3 separate regions of the Homo sapiens genome follow, and all the other regions are linked to region 1. Evidence: promoter capture Hi-C in 16 types of primary human blood cells and fetal thymus (Javierre and others, 2016). All regions are on one chromosome and are shown on one strand. The core of a region is centred on a gene start or on the middle of the fragment in contact, and the rest is flanking DNA. Distances in the headings are between cores, read along the strand shown.

Region 1 (3,285 bases), core at 250-2,749:
AAACTTCACTCGGTGCCCCTCACTTCCCTGTGATTCCCAGCAAGACAGCAGGGGAGGCGGGCTTGTGGCCTGGGGGTCTGAGAGGGCTCTTCCTTTTAGGGAGTAGAGTTTTGGTGAACTAAGCCCCTCCATTACGCTGAAGGATACTGAGGGGGCCACTGAGGAGTTGGGGGAAGGACTGGGAACAGCATGTGGGAAGAGAGAGCAAGAAAGAAAGAAATGAGGGGGTGGCTGTCGTAGTGGGGGAAGCTGACATGGCCAAGAGATGGCAGAGTCTGAGGTTTACCACTAAAGAGCTCTTGGCTACTTGTTGTGTGACTCTGGATGAGCTGCTAATAATAAAATCCACCACACAGGCTTATTGTGAAGACTAAATGAGATAAAGTTTATGAAGCCCCTAGCACAGTGCCAGACACAGCAAGAAAGCTGTTTGTAAAGGTGGCTATTTACTCTGTTCCTTGGACAATTCCAGCTGGAACCCTGTTACTTTATCTTCTATTCTGGGCATGTATAATGCAGAATTATCAGTTGTAAGCTACAAAAACCATTTCAGGAGGAGTTAAGCAGAAGGAATTTGTTTAAAAGATGTTAGAAAAGCTCGCAGGAGGTCTGAGAAGGCTGGAGAGCAAGGCTTGGAGAATAGGATGGATCAAGGGAGGCTGGAAGTAGACAGGACCATGGCCAAATATCACACCCCAGGACCAGCCCTGCACAGATTCTGCAGCCTCCCCTGAACCCCCTTCTTTCCTTCACTGCCCTGGAAGCCGGATGTGGTACCACAGCCTTTGTTGTAGAGAGGAGTTTCCACAGACCTGCCACCTCAGGACCAGTGGCTTTTTTTATTGTATTTTATTTTATTTTGAGATGGAGCCTCACTCTGTTGCCCAGCCTGGAGTGTAGCAGAGCCATCTCAGCTCACTGCAACCTCCGCCTCCCGGGTTCAAGCAATTCTCCTGCCTCAGTCTCCCAAGTAGCTGGAAATACAGGCACGTGCCACCACACTTGGCTAATTTTTGTATTTTTGTAGAGATGGGGTCCCACCATGTTGGCCAGGCTGGTCTTGAACTCCTGACCTCAAGTGATCTGCCCGCCTCGGCCTCCCAAAGTCCTGGGATTACAGGCGTGAGCCACTGCGCTCAGCCAGTGGCACTAGCTTCTGATCTGCTAGTCTACTGGGCTGCAGTGGAGATTAATGGCTGCTTGGGGCTTTTGTACCCTGGGCCAGACTCACGCACACCAGAATTTGTGTGAGGCCACAGGGGTTATGCCTCTTCTCATGCTCACAAGACTCGGCTTGGCAAGGAAATGTCCCAGGAGGTGGGCTAAGACAGACTCCCTCAGGTTCCCACATGGAGCAGCCTCTGCCTGCCAAGCCCTTCCTTGCTCTCGTCTCCCAGATCATCTGTCTTGTCAGCCTCCATGCCCTGTGATGTCACAGGCCTAAATGTGATGTCACTTTGTCCCACATGCCCTGGGGAGGTAGCACAAAGGGAGGACCATGGTCTTCTAACTGAGGAACCTGAGCAGATGCCTTGACCCAGACCAGAGACCCAAGCCAAGGAAAGCCCATGATCACCAGAGTAGGTTGGGAAGTGCGGATAGAGGGGAAGTAGTTTTTATTTTTTTCTAACAGAGAAGTTGTGCAAGGTGTTCTGAGAGTTGGGAGCAGAGTGTGATGCCAGGAGAGGGCAGAGCTGGCAGATGGAAGCCAAAGGTGTGCGGGTCACCCCTTCTGGGTGGGGACATCTGATCGACCTAGTCCATGTATGCCTGCATGAAGTGCTGGTGAGGGAGGTTGGAATTAAGTATTTGGCCATTTCGGCTTTTATAATGGGAGGTACCTTTTGCCTCCCTCAAGACTCATGTAGGGGAAAAGTTTCAGAGGCTGGGCGTCCAAAAAAACCTGACAGATGTCTACATGGAAAACCAAAATGAGTAGACAGAGGACCCTGTCCTTGAGATGCTCACAAACATGTTGGGATCAGTTATGTGGAGGATGAGTCACAGCCCTAGGGGCTGAGCTGGCAGAGAAACCCCAGGAACATGCCCCAGCCCATGGTGCACAGCCTGAGATGTCCCTGTATATTCTGGGACACCAGGGTGGCGTGGCTGGGGTGCAGATTGATGGCTGGTTGGGGCTTTTGCACCCTGGGCCAGACTCACGCACACCAGAATTTGTGTAAGGCCGCAGGGGTGATGCCTCTTCTCATGCTCACAAGAATAATGACATTGCTCAGGCTAAAAAGCCACTTTCTGGCCTATGAGGTCTCCCTTTTTGTATCTAGACATGTCTTTTCCTTATTTATTAACTTTTTTTAAGACAGGGTCTCGCTCTGTCACCCAGGCTGGAGTGCAGTGGCATGATCTCAGCTCACTGCAGTCTCGACCTCCCTGGCTCAAGTGATCCTCCCACCTCAGCCTCCTGAGTAGCTGGAACAACAGGCATGCGCTACCATGCCTGGCTAATTTTTGTATTTTTTGTAGAGATGGTGTTTCACCATGTTGCTCATGCTGGTCTTGAACTCCTGGGCTCAAGCAGTTGGCCCACCTCAGCCTCCCAAAGTGCTGGGATTACAGATGTGAGCCACCACACCTGGCCTAGTCATGCCTTACACCCATTTTGCTATGTCTATTTTTTTTTTTTTTAAAGAGACAGGGTCTTTCTCTGTCACCCAGGCTAGAGTGCAGTGGCAATATCCTAGTTCACTGCAGCCTTATATTCCTGGGCTCAAGTGATCCTCCTGCCTCAGCCTCCTGAGTAGCTGGGACCAGAGGTGCAAGTCACCATGCCCAGCTAAGTTTTGTATTTTTTGTAGAGATGAGGTCTTGCTTTGTTGCCCAGGCTGATCTCAAACTCCTGGGCTCAAGAGATGGGTCTGCCTTGGTCTCCTGAAGTGCTGGGATTACAGATGTGAGCCACTTCACCTGGCCATGTGCTTGAATTATCTTTTGCCTCTTGGGGCCTCTAGATTAGAGGATAGAACTTTCCAGGGTCAGGAGATCTGAGATGGGACTTGGAGGAGGAAAACGTGTTTGCTGTATCTCTGTGAGATCAGCTGCCTTCTCTGTCCTCTGTCTCATTCCATATCCTTCTATGTTGCCTGTTCTTGTCTCTGCCTGTTCCTGTCCCTACCTGTCACCATCACTGTCTCCCTGTCATCATCAATGCCTATCTTCATCTCAGCTTGGCTCCCCTCCACAGAAGGCTCCCCTGTTCAGCCTTTGAGCCCTACTCTGTCCTCCCGTCCAGCCATCTGGGTACTTTGAGAACAGAAATAACAGCCC
Region 2 (3,252 bases), core at 262-2,761, 91 kb after region 1:
GTCCCTGGTCAAGGAAGTGTCCCTCTAAGGTTTGTGGGGATGACTCAAATGGGGCCTAGGGCTCTGTCCACCCTCCACTGATACCTTCCAGAACTGCTGCCCATTGCCTGCCCGGATCCAGGAGATTGTGGTGGAGACGCCCACCTTGGCCGCTGAGCGAGAGAGGTGAGGGCGGGATGAGGAGGTGAGGGCCTGGGGGCGTTGGGTCACCGCGTGCTGATGGCCTCTGGGCTGTGCAGGAGCCAGGAGTCACCCAACACGCCGGCACCCCCGCTCTCCATGCTGCGCATCAAGTCTGAGAATGGGGAACAGGCCTTCCTACTGATGATGCAGCCTGACAACACCATTGGGGACGTGCGAGCTCTGCTAGCGCAGGCCAGGTGGGTGCAGGGCAGGGCCAGGGCCACAGAGGGGCTCTGGTCCCACTGCCCAGCCTGATCTGCTCTGCCTGGTCCCCAGGGTCATGGATGCCTCTGCCTTTGAGATCTTCAGCACATTCCCGCCCACCCTCTACCAGGACGATACACTCACGCTGCAGGCTGCAGGCCTTGTGCCCAAAGCAGCACTGCTGCTGCGGGCACGCCGAGCCCCGAAGTCCAGCCTGAAATTCAGTCCTGGTCCCTGTCCCGGTCCCGGTCCCGGCCCCAGTCCCGGTCCCGGTCCCGGCCCCAGTCCCGGTCCCGGTCCCGGCCCCAGTCCCTGTCCTGGACCCAGTCCCAGCCCCCAATAAAGCACCCGCCCCCTCAACCCGCTGCTCCGCCAGGCTCTTGGGTGGGCCATCTCGCCAGGCACGTAGGAAAGGCCTGGGACCAGCTGGGCCAGGGAGGGGGCGGTGCCGACCCGCCCCTTGGTAACTCGAGCCCCGGCTGGCGGGCCTGGCTGCTGGGTCTTTGTCTTCTAGGTTCCTCTTTCTCCCAAGAAGGGCTAAGTGGATCCTGTGAAGGGAGGGATGCAGTGGGGGGAAGGAGCTGGCCCCAGCTGGGTTTACATTCTCAGCTGGGACAGCAGAGCCTCACTGTGTATGTGTGCAGCCAGCAGATACCTGTGCACAGGCACAGACCCACCAACTCGTGGGGACACTTCAACACCGCACAAAGCCATTTTGCCACTAGACCCATGCCCCCAAATTAGCAGAACTGCAGCTGGGTACCCACCTCCCATGATACACTCATTCTTAGCCATTGTGCTCCAACACAGGCGCATGGGATGGCCACACTCACTGACAGGCATGGAGATGTGCACTACACACCAAGGCACAAGCATGATATGGACACATGCATGTGAACTGGAGGGTGGCCCACCCAGACATCTCCAGAAACCACTGGTCCATACAGGTATTTGTGTGTCAGACATATCCAAACACATGCACTAACAAACACAGAGGTGACAGTCACAAGAGAACAGCTCAGCCACCCTTCCCACAGAGCAGTCTCAGCACAGTCACAACTACCAACCTTGCCCAGGGCAGGGACCCAGGAGGCCCAGGCCACAACCAACCAGACACAGTGCCAATGGAACAGGACATCATTTAATTGCCTCTAGGGTCCTCCTGGGAGAGGGACTGCGGGGCCTTTGGCAGAGCTCTGGCTGATGGAACCAACAGAGGTGCCCATCAGCCAGTGCCAGGCAGGATGGCGGCCCCAATGCTTGGCTGGGGGCAGCCAGCATTTGGGGCTGTTGCTTAAGACAATTTCTGAGACTAATGGGTAAGGAATGTTGCCTTTAGATGGAGGAGAGGGGACTACATTTAGAGAGGAGGGAGGAGAAGTGGCCTGCATTGGGGGAGGGACTCTAAGGTTAGGTTAGGAATGACAGGGAGTTGGTCAAAAGGTCCTTCATGGCCAGGTGAAGGCTGGGGGGAGTGTGGTGATGGAGTCCAGCAGGGGAACTCTGGACAGGCTTGACTCAAGCCAGCTTCAGGAACTCCTGCAGCGTGTTTTGTTCCACAGCCTCCACGAAGAGCTCATAGTCCTGGAGAAGGGGAGGCGAGGGGTGGTCACCTGAATGCAGGGGGCCCAAGTGCTTTGTGGCAGATATGACCCTGGCTAGAGTCCTCTTCCAACACTCCCCCCACCCCCCCGTCCCCCAGCCCATACCCCACAGTACTGGTCCCCGTTGACAATCTGGGGTGGGGTGGCCTTGGGGTTGCCTGCCAAGGCTCGCATCTCATCCCTCAGGGCGTTGTCCTGGGAGATGTCCACTAGCTGGTATTGGATGCGCTTCCCATCCAGGATTCGGGTCACCTCGCTCTGCTGGGACTTGATCTGGGGACAGAGGGTGGGTAGGGGTTAGTGGATAGGCTGGAGGATTTATGGGGGAAATGCTGGGCAGGGTGAGAGAGGCTGTGACCAGGAGCTTTTGTCCCCCCATTCCCCTCCACACTAGGGGAGGGTTCTGGCCTCTAGGAGTTGGGAGGATGAGTCAGGCTTGAGGTGGTGCAGGATGAAGAGAGGGATTATCAGCCACGGGGGAGGGGGTCAGAGTGAAGGGAAGTGGGATCAGGCTCAGGGTGGGGAGGGGAGGGGAGGGCAGGCTGCGGTCGTGGTCAGGGTCAGCCCGGTAGTGGGAGTGCAGAGAATGGGTGTGGGGTTGATGGGGGATGGGCACGGGAAGTTCATGCCGCGGCTGCAAAGGACCCAGGATGCCCGATGAAGACATTCAGGATGGGGCCTCGGGACCGGGTCCGGGAGACCGTGCCCAGCACCTCGCCGACGCACTCCCCCCACCCCGCCCCCGTCCTGGGGGTGGGTCCCGGGCGCTAGGGTCCAAAGCACCGGGATACAGCCCTGCGCTTTCCCCCAGCGCCAGTCCGGGCGCGCACTTACTTCGCGGGAGCCGGTGACCGACGTGCTGTAGACGCGCAGGCCGCTCATGCTGGGGGTAGACAGACGGGCCGGCGGGCAGAGGGCGGCGGTAGCGGCAGCTGCACTGCCGGGAGACGACGCCGCCGCCGTGCTCGGGAGCGGTTTCCTTCCTGCTCCGCCCGCCAAGTCATCGCGCTCGGGACCAATGGGCGGCGCGGGCAGGCGGGGTGGGACCTGCGCGACACCGCCCCGCACGCCAGAGGCCCCTTCCCTTCCCCCTCGGTTACCAGGCGCGCAACGGACCCGTCCCACGCAGGGCGCCCCTTCTGCGGCTGCCCTGATCGTCCTTTTCGGCCCTTCCCTGATCTGGAGCTCAGTGTGAGACTGGGGAGGGGCCTGGGTGGCAGGACAGGCCCGGGAGAGGGTCTGGCAGAAGCCTCCCTCTCCA
Region 3 (3,582 bases), core at 913-3,412, 110 kb after region 1:
ACCTGAGGCCAGGAGTTTAAGACCAGCCTGGCCAACATGGTGAAACCCCATCTCTAATAAAAGTACAAAATTTAGCCCAGTGTGGTGGCATGTGCCTATCATCCCAGCTACTTGGGAGGCTAAGTCACAAGAATGACTTGAGCCAGAGAGGTGGAAATTGAAGTGAGAAGATTCACTAGATTTTAGCCTTATATAGAATTCCTTCACATTTGAGCAACATGGATGAGGAGGAATAGTTTGCAAGCTTGGCCTTTATTTAAGAGTGTGTTGCAGGTGCCGTTTGATTTTTCTAAAATATTTTTAGCCCATGCTCCCCTTTGCTGCAAGAAGTAGGGAACTGCTCACTGACAAGCTTCTCTATCATCTGTGGTACCAGTGGATCATTCTTGATTTTATTTTCATTAGTGTCATTTCTTTGTCAGCGAGGACTTTTCCCCTTCCAACAGTCACATCCCCCGCCCCCCGCCTTTTTTTGTTTTGTTTTGTTTTTTTTGAGACAGACTCTCACTCACTCTGTTGCCCAGATTAGAGAGCAGTGGTGCTATCTCGGCTCACTGCAACATCTACCTCCTGGGTTCAAGCAACTCTCTTGCCCCAGCCTCTTAAGTAGCTGAGGTTACAGGAGCCCACCACCATACCCCGCTAATTTTTGCATTTTGTTTTTTTTTGAGACAGAGTCTTGCTCTGTTGCCAGGCTGGAAGTGCAGTGGTGTGATCTTGGCTCACTGCAACCTCCGCCTCCTGTGTTCAAGTGATTCTCCTGCCTCAGCCTCCCAAGTAGCTGGGACTATAGGCGTGCGCCACCACCCCCAGCTAATTTTTTGTATTTTTAGTAGAGATGGGGTTTCACCATGTTGGCCAGGATGTTCTTGATCTCCTGACCTTGTGATCTGCCCTCCTCAGCCTCCCAAAGTGTTGGGATTACAGGTGTAAGCCATCGTGCCTGGCCATTTTTGTATTTTTTTTAGTACAGAGAGGGTTTCACCATGTTGGCCAGACTGGTCTCGAACTCCTGACCTCAAGTGATTCGCCTGCCTTGGCCTCCCCATATGCTGGGATTACAGGTGTGAGCCACCATGCCTGGCCAGTAAAAGCAAAACTTATAATACCACCTGGGATTGTAAACTAGTCATTCAGACTGTATAACCATGCAGAAATAAAAATTGAAGAGCAACGTATTATATGGGCAACTTTTGCTCTGAGTAATAAACTTGATTTTAGGGAAAAAAAAAATTTTTTTTTTTTTTTAAGAGAGTCTCACTATGTTGTTCAGGCTTGTCTTAAACTCCTGAGCTCAAGCAATTCTCTTGCCACAGTCTCCCAAAGTGCTGGAATTATAGGTATGAGCCACTGAGTCTGGCCAGAACTACTAAATTTTTTATTTTTTCATTTGTTTTTAGAACTACTAGTTTTATTATAAATCTATTGGTATTTAATTACCTAACAGATATATAAATTATTATTTTTTTAAACTCACTAACCCAACTTTCTTTTATTTTTTTGAGATGGAGTTTCGCTCTTGTTGCCTAGGCTGGGGTGCAATGGAGCGATCTTGCCTCATTGCAACTTCCGCCTCCTGGGTTAAAGTGATTCTCCTGCTTCAGCCTCCTGAGTAGCTGGGATTATAGGCATGTGCCACCACGCCCAGCTAATTTTGTATTTTTAGTAGAGACAGGGTTTCTCCATGTTGGTCAGGCTGGTCTCGAACCCCTGACCTCAGGTGATCTGCCCACCTCAGCCTCCCAAAGTGCAGGGATTACAAGCATGAGCCACGGCGCCCAGCCTAACTCAACTTTAAATTTTCTTTTTTAACAAACCCTCTTAAGTCCTTCCAGTACCAACAACATCAGCATCACCTGGGAGCTTGTCAGAAATGCAGAATCCAGCTGGGTGCAGTGGGTCACATCTGTAATCCCAGCACTTTGGGAGGCTGAGGTGGGTGGATCACCTGAGGTCAGGAGTTCGAGACCAGCCTGGCCAACATGGTGAAACCCCATCTCCACTAAAATTACAAAAATTAGCTGGGTGTGGTAGCAGGCGCCTGTAATCCCAACTACTTGGGAGGCTGAAGCAGGAGAATCGCTTGAACCCAGGAGGCTGAGGTTGCAGTGAGCTGAGATTGCACCACTGCACTCCAGCCCAGATGCCAGAGCGAAATTCCATCTCAAAAAAAAAAAAAAGAAAGGCAGGATCTCAGGCTTCCTCCTAGAACTATGAATCTGATGTACATTTTTAACAAGATCCCCAAGTGATTCTGAAACAATGAAGTTTGAGAAGTATTGCTCTAGTTGTTTTAAGTGGTCTAGAACTTTAACATTACTAAACTGGTTCCCCAAAAACACATGCTTTAGAGCAAGCCGTGAATTGGGAGATACCAACAAAACCAAATAACTTTAAACCTAAGGCAATTCTAAGAGTACTGGCAAATATACACACCCAAACTAGCTGTGCACATGGAATTTTTTTTTTTTTTCCTGAGACGGAGTCTTGCTCTATCACCTAGGCTGGAGTGCAATGGCATGATGGCGTGATCCTGGTTCACTGCAACCTCTGTCTCCCGGGTTCAAGCTATTCTCCTGCTTCAGCCTCCCAAGTAGCTGAGATTACAGGCGCCAGCCACCACACCCAGCTAATTTTTGCATTTTTAGTAGAGACGGGGTTTCACCATGTTGGCCAGGCTGGTCTCGAACTCTGGACCTCAGGTGATCCACCCGTTTCAGCCTCCCAAAGTGCTGGGATTACAGGCGTGAGCCACCATGCCTGATGCACATGGAATTTTTCTCTACTTTTTAGGAAGGGTGAGAAACCAGACTGAATGATACAAATATACCACAGGTGTATTTTGCAACAGTGCCACCTGGTATGAGTACTCAGGTTGGTTTTCTACCCAGACCAGCTGGTGGTACATTGCACAGCACAACCTGGGACAGTGAGGGATCATACAACTTTCTCTGACTGTTGTGGTTTTGTGGAGATGAAGCAAAAATGAGGGAGGGAGGAGAGTTCCATTTCTAGCAAAAAGGAGATCTGTGACGATTCTGTGTGAGAAGCCAGTGGAGGATCTCACCCAATTGTCTCCTCTTAGTTCCAGGCCAGAAACAGCTTAGGCTTTAGAGTAGACAGCTGACTGCCAACTCCTTTGTGAACTAGGGCTATCAGCTACTCAGCTCACCCTTTCTTCCTGTTTCTTCACTTCCTCAGAATGCTTCTGCAACGCCACTTTGAGCGACTCTCTGATGAGCTGGACTTCAACTTCAGAAGCAGAGAGTTTCTTTTCAAGGTCAATCTTTTCTCTGCTCAAGGCTTCTGTCTTCTGTGCAAACTGTGCACGTAAGAAAGTGTTTTCTCGCTGCAATTCCTGCCAGAAAGATTCTCAATATGTAACTGTTCTCTACCCTTATAGTCTCATGTACTTTACTTATTCCCAGCATACTTCACGGTCAAATATCATTTTTCTCCAAGAATCTCTTTAAGAAGTGGTTCTCAACTAGGTCTTAGGGTTAACAGCATCAGCATTACCTGATGATGTAATTTGTTAGCAATGCAATGTCTTAAGCCTAACTCCTAGGCCCACCAAACCAG

What was found. Contacts are between HindIII fragments. The CHiCAGO score rates a contact against its expected background, and 5 or more counts as called.
Region 2: a fragment that was not itself captured here is called in contact with the fragment with the promoter of ZNF683 in region 1 in 12 of 17 cell types (naive B cells, non-activated CD4 T cells, M2 macrophages and 9 more); the score reaches 13.6 in naive B cells.
Region 3: a contact is called between a fragment that was not itself captured here and the fragment with the promoter of ZNF683 in region 1, in 3 of 17 cell types (naive B cells, M2 macrophages and total B cells). The highest score is 7.1, in naive B cells.

Annotation. Positions count from the first base shown.
Region 1 is chr1:26,370,964-26,374,248 of GRCh38, reverse strand. ZNF683 (zinc finger protein 683) reads left to right here and starts at 1,499. Exons shown (of 6, transcript NM_001114759.3): 1 at 1,499-1,580. The HindIII fragment of the contact is 11,410 bases long and covers 1-3,285 here.
Region 2 is chr1:26,279,777-26,283,028 of GRCh38, reverse strand. It overlaps SH3BGRL3 (SH3 domain binding glutamate rich protein like 3), which reads right to left and starts at 2,943. Exons shown (of 3, transcript NM_031286.4): 1 at 2,826-2,943; 2 at 2,097-2,264; 3 at 1,507-1,971. The coding sequence starts at 2,873. The coding sequence ends at 1,906. It overlaps UBXN11 (UBX domain protein 11), which reads left to right. Exons shown (of 15, transcript NM_001389556.1): 13 at 92-165; 14 at 240-380; 15 at 460-747. The coding sequence ends at 730. RefSeq lists enhancers at 1,648-2,534, 2,535-3,252 and silencers at 2,662-3,111, 2,588-3,159. The HindIII fragment of the contact is 3,655 bases long and covers 1-3,252 here.
Region 3 is chr1:26,259,393-26,262,974 of GRCh38, reverse strand. It overlaps CEP85 (centrosomal protein 85), which reads right to left. Exons shown (of 14, transcript NM_001319944.2): 7 at 3,173-3,358. Among named protein-coding and RNA genes, the nearest start is that of SH3BGRL3, 19 kb to the left of the region's middle. The HindIII fragment of the contact is 3,615 bases long and covers 355-3,582 here.